2 separate regions of the Homo sapiens genome follow, and region 1 is linked to region 2. Evidence: promoter capture Hi-C in 16 types of primary human blood cells and fetal thymus (Javierre and others, 2016). All regions are on one chromosome and are shown on one strand. Each heading gives the region's core, a stretch centred on a gene start or on the middle of the fragment in contact. The rest is flanking DNA. Distances are from core to core; before and after follow the strand shown.

Evidence for each region. Contacts are between HindIII fragments. The CHiCAGO score rates a contact against its expected background, and 5 or more counts as called.
Region 1: a contact is called between a fragment that was not itself captured here and the fragment with the promoter of SLC18A2 in region 2, in 1 of 17 cell types (neutrophils). The highest score is 10.2, in neutrophils.

The regions. Positions count from the first base shown.
Region 1 is chr10:117,349,464-117,354,513 of GRCh38, forward strand. The region is part of intron 1 of PDZD8 (PDZ domain containing 8); the gene reads right to left. Among named protein-coding and RNA genes, the nearest start is that of PDZD8, 23 kb to the right of the region's middle. The HindIII fragment of the contact is 5,284 bases long and covers 503-5,050 here.
Region 2 is chr10:117,237,514-117,242,375 of GRCh38, forward strand. It overlaps SLC18A2 (solute carrier family 18 member A2), which reads left to right and starts at 3,601. Exons shown (of 16, transcript NM_003054.6): 1 at 3,601-3,707; 2 at 4,166-4,301. The coding sequence starts at 4,181. SLC18A2-AS1 (SLC18A2 antisense RNA 1) reads right to left here and starts at 4,484. Exons shown (of 3, transcript NR_184310.1): 1 at 4,372-4,484; 2 at 4,148-4,270; 3 at 1,252-2,668. The HindIII fragment of the contact is 8,499 bases long and covers 318-4,862 here.

The sequences.
Region 1 (5,050 bases), core at 1,895-4,394, 110 kb after region 2:
GACCAAGGAAGACTAACTATGAACAGAACATGTTATCAATTATATAAAAATAAGGATGGCCAGGTGTGGTGGCTCATGCCTGTAATCCCAACACTTTGGGAGGCTGAGGCAGGCGACCTGCTTGAGCTCAGGAGCTCGTGACCAGCCTGGGCAACATAGCCACACCCCATTTCTACAAAAAATACAAAAACCAGCTGGGCATGGTGGTGCGCTCCTGTAGTTCCAGCTACACTGGAGGCTGGGGCAGGAGGATCATTTGAGCCTGGGAGATCGAGGCTGCAGTGAGCTGAGATCACAACACCGCACTTCAGCCTGGGTGACAGAGTAAGACCCACTCTCAAAAATAAAAAAATAAAAAAATAAAAATAAATAAAGATGTAGTTCAGTGAATGAATGGAAAATAGTTAATATAACTATATCAAAAAAGGCAAAAGAGAAGGTGAGAGGATATTACTTAGTGAAATCTTTTATCTTCTGAAGCCAATTAATAGTCACTGTCTAAAGCTTCTGACTCAAGGATAGCTATATGACACTGTTTAGTAATACAGAGGTAACACCACTATTATTAGTATAGCTAACACTTATTACATACTTAGCATGTGAAAGGCATTATATTAATTAACTTAATTCCCAAAACAATTCTTTGAGATAGGTACTATAATCAGCCCCATTTTGCAGATGAGGGAACTAAGACACAGAGAGGTTAAGTAACTTGCTCAGGGATACACAGCTAGTAAGTGGTAGAACCAAAATAAGAATCTAGGTAGTCTAGCTCCAGAATCTGTTTTTTTTGTTTGTTTGTTTCTTTTTTTTTTTTTTTTGAGACGGAGTCTTGCTCTGTCCCAGGCTGGAGTGCAATGGCATGATCTTAGCTCACTGCAACTTCTGCCTCCCGGATTCAAGCTATTCTCCTGCCTCAGCCTCCCAAGTAGCTGGGATTACAGGGTGCCCACTACCACGTTCGGTTAATTTTTGTATTTTTAGTAGAGACGAGGTTTCACTGTGTAGGCCAGGCTGGTCTCGAACTCCTGACCTCATGATCCACCTGCTTCGGCCTCCCAAAGTGCTAGGATTACAGGTGGGAGCCACCACGCTTGGCCCCAGAATCTGTGCTCTTCATCAATGCCTCTTAAAAGTTGTTAAAAATAGAAATACATAGGCCGGGCGCGGTGGCTCACGCCTGTAATCCCAGCACTTTGGGAGGCCGAGGCAGGCGGATCACAAAGTCAGGAGATCGAGACCATCCTGGCTAACATGGTGAAACCCCGTCTCTACTAAAAATACAAAAAAATTAGCTGGGTGTGGTGGCAGGTGCCTGGAGTCCCTGCTACTCAGGAGGCTGAGGCAGGAGAATGGCATGAACCTGGGAGGCAGAGCTTGCAGTAAGCAGAGATTGCACCACTGCACTCCAGCCTGGGTGACAAAGTGAAAAAAAAAAAAAAAGAAATATATAGTTACAAATGATTGCTTCTGAACAGTCTAGCTTAGGGCAGGAAAGTAAAGGGTTTAGGGAGGCAATTGCTGATTTTCATCATAAGTTCTTCTGTTTTGATTTTTAAGTTACATGCATTAAGTAAAATGAAAGAACAAACAATGCCAAATGTTGGAGAGGATGTGAAACTGCTGGTTTCGACTATTAAAACTACTTTGAAAATTGTAGTAATATCTACGAAGCCAGTAGAGATCCACCCTATGACTCTGCAATCCTACTCCTCGATATACCCAAGAGAAATGTGCACAAATGTTCACCAAAAGGCATATATAAGAATATTCATAACAACACTACCCATCAACAAAAATGGACAGACTGAAGTACATTCACACAGTGGAATACTCCACAGCAAATATAATGAACAAACTACATCTATATGCAACAACATGGATTAATCTCACAAACTACTCTTGAGCTAAAGACAACAAAAATGAGTACATACAGTATGATTCAATTTATACAAAGTTCAAAATCAGGCAAAAAACAAACACAAAAAAATCTAAAAATAGTGTTAGAAGTCAGGATAGTAGTTACTTTAAGGCAGAGGAGAGGAAGGTAGTGACTAGGTAGCATATGAGGAGCTTCTTGGTTGCTGGTAACACTCTGTTGCTTGTTTTGAATGCTGATTTCATGAGTTTGTTCACTTTGTAGACATTCATGGAGCTGAATTTTCTGATTAGTACACTTTTCAGGTGGTGAGTTATATTTTAATAAAAATTTAAAGAAAAAACATGTTTTTTTCTTTTTTTGAAGACAGGGTCTTACTCTGTTGCCCAGGCTGGAATGCAGTGGTGTGATCATGGCTCACTACAGCCTTGACCTCCTGGACTCAAGCAATCCTTCTGCCTCAGCATCCCAAGTAGCTGGCACTACAGATGCAGGCTACCACACCCAGTTATTTTTTGTAGAGGTGAGGTCTTGCTATATTGCTCAGGCTGGTCTTGAATTCCTGGGTCCAAGCAATCCTCCTGCTTCGGCCTCCCAAAGTGTTGGGATTCTAGGAGTGAGCCACTATACTTGGCGTGTTTAATTTTTAAATGTGCATTATTTTACTAACACTTAAAATACATATTTAAATTTATACTTACAAGAGAAGCCAAGCCTTCTTCTCCTGTGTAGATCTGACAGAACCTTTTGTAACATCTAAAATATGTCTTACTTTAAGATGTCTCTTCAAGTTTGCCCTATAAGCATGCTGAATACCAGCTGGTGACATCTCCATCACATGGCAGCAGTAAAACTGTTTGCAAACACTGGGATCTTTAGAGAGAAAGGTTTTACTACAACCCAATGTAAAAATATGCAGAGGTCTAGATCTACTGTTAACTGCAGTTGAGCGTTCATGTTCTTGCTCAAGTGATAAATCTGCTAGAGTTTTCAGATCAATACGAGAAAACTTTGTGACAATTAGAGCTAGTGAAAAAAGGACATGGCTTTCTCAGTATGTAGTAGCAAGCCTCTATCTCTAGAAATATTTAGGCAAAGGTTAGATGAGGATTTGTCAAGGAGACAAAAAAGAACACAAAAAAGAAGACAAAGGAACACAAAACTTAGAATCATATATACATATAGATTGTTGTCCCAACTTCATCACTGATAAAGCAGGTGATATTGGAAAAGCCTTTTATCTCCTTAAACTTCAATTTCTTGTTCAAAAAGGGAGGAGGGGAATAATCCATGCTTTTTGTTACCTATGAGAGGGTGAAGTAAAACTAATTCATATGCCAGCATCTCTTAAACTACAAGGTATTGTAACCACCTGAGGGGTTCTTCCTGCCCACAGCATAAAGACAGACCATGGTGGCATTGTCATAGAGGAAGAGTTTAATAGACACAAGGCTGGCCACACCACAGGGGAGATAAAATTTGTACTCAAATCACTTCATTCAAAGCTCGTAGGGGAAGGGTTTTTCAAAGGCAGTTTGGGGAAAGGAGTGGGGTGGCCAGCTAACAGGGGCTTGCTGCTGATTGGTTGGGGCAGAGATGAACTCATAGGGGGCTGAAGCTGTCCTCCTGTGCGCCAAATTGCTTCTGGGTGGAGCCACAGGAGTGGGGTTGTAATAAGTCCTAATACAATGCCACTTTTACTAAAACACATTTCCTAATCTGCATTATAAAGCTGTATAATTTCTATAAAGTCACAGTATCTCACTTTTAATGGTTTACAGAAAGTAAATTCTAGTGTCAATCATGGGCTCTCTATTAAATTTACTTTAGATATCTAAAACAGTACCTCTTGTCTTCCAAACTATTTTGTCTAGGTTATGATGCTGAGTAAAATATAAAGAACTCAATAAAATTGTTCAGCAATTCTATTAATACTGACTTGGAGTCCTAGAGGGAGTGGAAATCAATAATAATGGTAATGACCTTCCCAGTGCAGTTTGATGGCTCTCAAACTTTCTCGAATTATTCCAGTCCTCCAAGAAAGACCCATATTAGTCACAATATTTCAGAAGGAAGGGGTAAACAAGTCCACGTGATTAAAAGATCAACGAATCTCTCTCTGTTCTAATAAAAATCCATGCTAGTTTATTATAAGGAACACTATGAAAGTCATTTCTGAGAATCTACACCTTGATGTTTTCTAATTTGGGGATATAAAAAAATGATCCTAAGCTAGATGCTAAAGAATTATTACTTTTTAAAGGTTTGATAGTGGGATTATACTTTTTTAAAAAAAGACATATTGATGTTATACATAAATTTTGTTCAAAATAATCGGGGGAGGGGTGTGTGGCAAGATGAACAAGAGTGGCCCTAAGTTAATTACTGGCTACAGACAAAGCAAGATGAGGGAGGGGGGTGAGGGGGCGGGGAGTGGCATTTACTGAACTATTTTCTTGACTTTTAAGTGAAGTATTCCAAAATGGAGAATTAGAAAAATTGTTCTGTATACTAAAACAATGTGGTTTCTGTCTTCCTGTTTCCTTTCTCTAACTTCCCTGAGCAACATCACTTGCTGTCACTGCTTTTATCACAGTTCATACATTGGTACCTAAAAATGAGTTAAACACCCTTTCTTCAAACTTGCGCCCTTCTCTCCTGCTTTCTCTTACTGGCACCACCAATTTCAAAGACACCTGGAAACCTGGAGGTAACCTTTTATTCCTCCTCTTCTCACAACCAATTAGTTCTATCCCCATTCCCTCCATTCATTTACTGTTAAAATGTCTCTTCTGTTGTTCTGTGTTCCTCATTGGCCTGATTTAGGTTTTCATTGATTGCGGAGAATGTTGGGATTTCTGAAATTGTTTCCTTTTCTTAAAAAGAGTACTTTCTTAAACCAAAAACAAAGCCTCTACCTTTTGTTGTTGTAAATAAAAAGCTACCTCACAGGACTATTACTAAGATTTAGAGTTCACACATGTGATACACCTAATCAAGTTCGTGGCTTGTTATAAGCACACAAATTCTGGTTTTCTTCTCTTCTTTATGCCAAAGTATTACTATTTCAAACTAGCTGTCTCACTGAATCTCTGAAGATCCTACAAGGCCCTCATTCTGTTCCTTTGTGATTTCTCCTACCCACAATATGCTCCTACCCCATCTCCCTAT
Region 2 (4,862 bases), core at 2,351-4,850:
AGGAGGAAGTGAAGTAAAAAGGAGAAGTAACACCTTCATGAGGGTTTATAAGGGAGGGGCCTGTCTGATGCTGGACAGCATGCTTTCCTCCATGAGGAAATAACTAGAAAAGAAGAGGAAGCGGAAAGAAAATGTGCAAAGGCCCTGGGGCAGAGAAATGCTGAGAGGAACCACTGTGGCCAGAGGGGGAAGGCGAGGGCTAAGATGTTTGAGAAGTGGCCGTGGAGGCTCTTCAGGCTGGAATGGCAGGACACTGAGTGTATATGAAGATGTCCCGAGCCGTTTGAGACCCTCAATTTTCATGTCTTCCATTCTAAAGCTTATCTGGCTGATATGGACCTGGGTGGGGACATGCACATGCTCCTGCATGGCCTCCCCTCTCCACAGTCTCCCATCTTCCCCTGGGCAAAGAAAGGCTCCCTTCCTATCTAACCTGAGTCTGACCCCCTTCCTGTATACAGTGTCCTGAGGCACAAAAACATCCTCGGCACCAAACAGAGACACTTTTGGTGTCTCTTTCAGCAAGACTCCAAAAATCCCCTCTCTATCCATCCCTTAAGTAATGCACTTTTAAGACAATTTTCCTTTTTATGTTTAATAATTATTTATCAGAATACATATTTGTGTATGATGTCTTGATCACTTAAATACCATTAATCATTGTTATAATCACATAATCCTAAAGAGAATTTTAGAGCCTTATTAATTAATCATTAATTAATTTTTGAGGCAGGGTCTTGCTCTGTTGCCCAGGCTAGAGTGCAGTGGTGTGATCATGGCTCACTGCAGCCTTGACTTCCTGGGCTCAAGTGATCCTCCCACCCCAGCCTTCCAAGTAACTGGGACCCCACGTGTGTACCACGATGCTCAACTAAATTTTAAACTTTTTTGTAGAGGGTCTCACTATCTTGCCCAGGCTGGTCTCAAACTCCTGGCCTCAAGAGATCCTCCCACCTCAGCCTACCAAAATGCTGGGATTACAGGCATGAGTCACTGTGCCTAAACTTTTTTTTATACTTTCAACTTTTGTTTTGGATTCAGGGGGTACATGTGCAGGGTTGTTACACTGGTATATTGAGTGATGTTGAGGTGTGGGGTATGACTGATCCTGTCCCCCTGGTAGTGAGCATAGTACCCAAGAGTTAGTTTTTCAACCTTTTCCCCCCTCCCTCCCTTTCCCCTTTAGTAGTCCCCACCAGGGTCTGTTGTTGCCATCTTTATGTCCACGTGTAGAAAATTTTAAAAAGCTAATGCATATTCACATATTTATTGTGGTTCACATAATAGATAGGTGATGAATACAGAATTTAAACAATAAAAGCATTAGGGTAGGATACAATTCTGTTGGAAAACGGAATGGAAACATACTTAAAAGGGGTAAAGAACACAATGTAAATATTTTGACTGTTAAAGGGATACTTGTTTATATTCTTAAGTATAACATGGCAGTTTTGTATTCTTATACAAATTCCTTTGGGTATATTTAAAAGAGAGAGATAATAATTTTATACATAAAGGTCAATAAATACAATATACCCTATTTAAATATATGATTAAAAAACTCATTTTAGATGCCAACTTGAAAATGTGTAAGGCAAACATATTGTTAAACATTTTTTAGGGGGTTTCAACAAAAAGTCTGTTATAGGCCATAGTGCTCTAGGGGTGGTGACAGTGATCCGGAGGCGGGAACGCCGGGCTGGCATTGTCCCTGGAGCCATCTACATCCAGCTGGCTGGGCTGGAGTTTGGTGTGGCTTCCAGTGTTCACTGCTATGATGCTGCTATCAGGTCAGAATGTCAGCAGGGATTTGTCTAGGCTTTACTGTCTCCCCAGCATTAACCATAGTGCCTGGCACGTAGTAAGAGCTCAACACATATTCAGCGCATGAATGAGGGGCCGGCACTTACGGAGCTCTCACTTTGTGCCAGGCACTGTGCTAAGAGCTGCCTATGCATTCCCCTGGAATTCTCACAACCACGCTGCAGTAGGTCCAGTGAGTATCCCCATTCCAGAGATGGCGAAACTAAGCCACAAAGAGGATACATAACCAGCCCAAGGCCACCAGTCAAGGAAGTAGCAGACTGGGACCTGGGCATCCTGGCAGGCACCCTTTACCATAATGCCTCTCTGTCCCCATGTGGTCCCTGGGGTAGAGTCTGCATCCTTGGGTTCTGAAACTCCAGAGCAAGCACTCTGGGGCACTCCCTGAGTGATACCCTCCTGCCATCTTAAACGGCTCTCTGCCATCTGCTTCCTCCTCCTAAGTGGTTTTCCTTCTGTCCTCCCTGTTTAATGTTTAAGTTGTGCACATCCTGTGACATCCTGGAGACCCATGTTCCTGACCTACTTACCTATTCAACCATCTCTTCTCACACATGGGGTAGCAATGAGAAGCACAGGGGGTCTCTGCAAGGGAGTAGGGAGGTGGAGAGAGCGGGGGCAGCCACACATCACACTGCTGTTCTCAGTGGCCTCCTGCTGTCAACAAGCTAACATTAATAAAACAAGCCCACTCTTCTGCTAAGAGACTGTGACAGGGTAACATTTATTCTAGGTAGCTTTTCAAGAAAACAGCTCTTGCTCCCACGGTCCCCTCGGAGGGCCTGCAGAGCTCCAGCGATGTCAGAGGGCATCTGTTTGTTTCTCCTTTGCTTATAAAAGGGACCTGGAAATCAAAGGCAGGCTCTTAGCCCTTAGCAGTGAGGATGACAGCTCTGCACCAGCCACACGCAGGCCCCTGGCTCTAGGAACCACCTCTCACCCAGACGCCCAGGCACAGCATGGTGGGGAGAGAGTACAGGACACAGGGCCTAGGCCTGCTGCCCCGCCCACAGCCCGCCCCCTAGCCCTTTCTCTGAGGCCAGGTGTACTCACCTAGCCTCCAGGGTCCCCTGCTCAGGTGGCCCCAGAGGCCCAAACCCACTGCTCCCACTTTCTGAGACCTGGGACCCTCACCTCCCCAACTCCCACCATAGGGCGACACTGAAAAGTGTCCCCTTCCCCCCCCCGTTTCCAAGTCACCAGCTTGAGGATGCCCAAGGCTCAAAGGCTCCTCCGAGTGGCACCCCGCATCGGGCTGCAGAGGTCGGAGAGGGGAGGGGATGGTGGGTGCAAAGGGTGGCTTCTTCAGGAAAGGGAAGCCTGTCCCTGGCTCCCAGCACCTGTCACCCCTGGCGATCTCACCCCGCGGCCATCATTCCCGTCCTCACGGCCCATTTCAGGGACACTGAGGCTCAAAGAGCCACGTGATTTATTCAAAGCAGCTCGAGCCACCACTTGGAGCCACAAGAAAGCCCTGGTCCGTGCCTCCTCGCCTTGGTCCCTGGCCCTTCACTCTTCGTCCAGGCTCTCTGACCTCTTTCCCTCTGCGCCCCTGCCTCTTCCCCAGGCCTGGGTCCCCAAGGCACTCGGCCACGCGCTGGGTCCGGGGAAGAGGCGCGGCCGCGGCCGAGGCGGGGACAGGGAGGCGGCAGCCCCTCCTGCGCAGCGACGGCGCGGGCGGGCGGAGGCCGGGGCGCCCCAGCCCCCCGCCCCCGCTCCCTCCGGCCGTGACGTCAGAGCCGGACGGGGTAAACTGAGCGGCGGCGGCGGGGCGCTGGGGCGGAGACTGCGACCCGGAGCCGCCCGGACTGACGGAGCCCACTGCGGTGCGGGCGTTGGCGCGGGCACGGAGGACCCGGGCAGGCATCGCAAGCGACCCCGAGGTAACACGGCCCCGGTTCCCTGCTCGCAGGGCGCGGTGCCGGAGGGGAGCGGGCCCGGGGGAGGCAGGGAGGCAGGGAGGCCCCCAGAGCTACGCGGGCGGGGCTGCGGGGACCCCGGGGCAGCCGGGGCGCAGGGCGCAGGGCGCAAGGTGCACGGGGCCGAGCGTGCAGTTTGGGAGGTGGCACAGTTGGGGGCGGCGGGGATCAGGGCAGCGTCCTGGGGGTTCTAGGTTGGGTCTCCAGATTGGGTCCCCGACGGCGCTCGCGGGCGCTCTTTCCAGGGAGCGCGGGCTCTCGTGGGGACGCGCTCGAGGCAGGTGAGCCGAGGCTGGGGCGCCCGGGGGTGTCCCCGGATGCCGGTGCGCGCGGCTCCCTGACCCGCCCTTCCGCGGCCTGGGGGACGGGAGAATGGGGGGTCCACGGCCGCCTTGGGTCCTCACCGCGCACCGCGCCCGCAGCGGAGCCCCGGAGCCATGGCCCTGAGCGAGCTGGCGCTGGTCCGCTGGCTGCAGGAGAGCCGCCGCTCGCGGAAGCTCATCCTGTTCATCGTGTTCCTGGCGCTGCTGCTGGACAACATGCTGCTCACTGTCGTGGGTACGTGCGGACAGGGCACCCCTGCCCCGGCACCCCAGCCCCAGCGCCCCTTCCCCGGCACTCCACTTACCCCTGCGCGGTCCCGGAGCTCCGCCAAGGCCCGGGAAAGTTGGAGAACTCGCTTTGCAAAAAAGACATCCCCTCCAGGCTGCCGCGCCGGGGCTAGGAGGAGCCGCGTTGTGTGGCTTCGCTTTCCTGATGCTCGGGTCAAAAACTGTGACATCCGATAAGACCCAGAACTTATGTTTCCCCCTGATAATTTCCCGCATCCTCTTGCCTGCTTTCACTGCGATGAAAAAGATTTCTGTTCCAAAAGAGAAATTCCTAAAGTTCAAAATTACGTGTTAGAATAATTATTGGGCTACTCGAAAAGGCAGGTTAGTAATTTGGTGTAGTACCTAAAAGAGCAAGTTTCGATCCCTTACTCCAAAAACAAGACATTTAGATATACTGTATTAGTGAATGACTTGAGATGGAAATATTTCAGGAACCATTGCAAGAACAATTTGAACAATCTTGGTTCTATTATTTTTCCTATAGTGGAATTTTGAAAAATTAAAT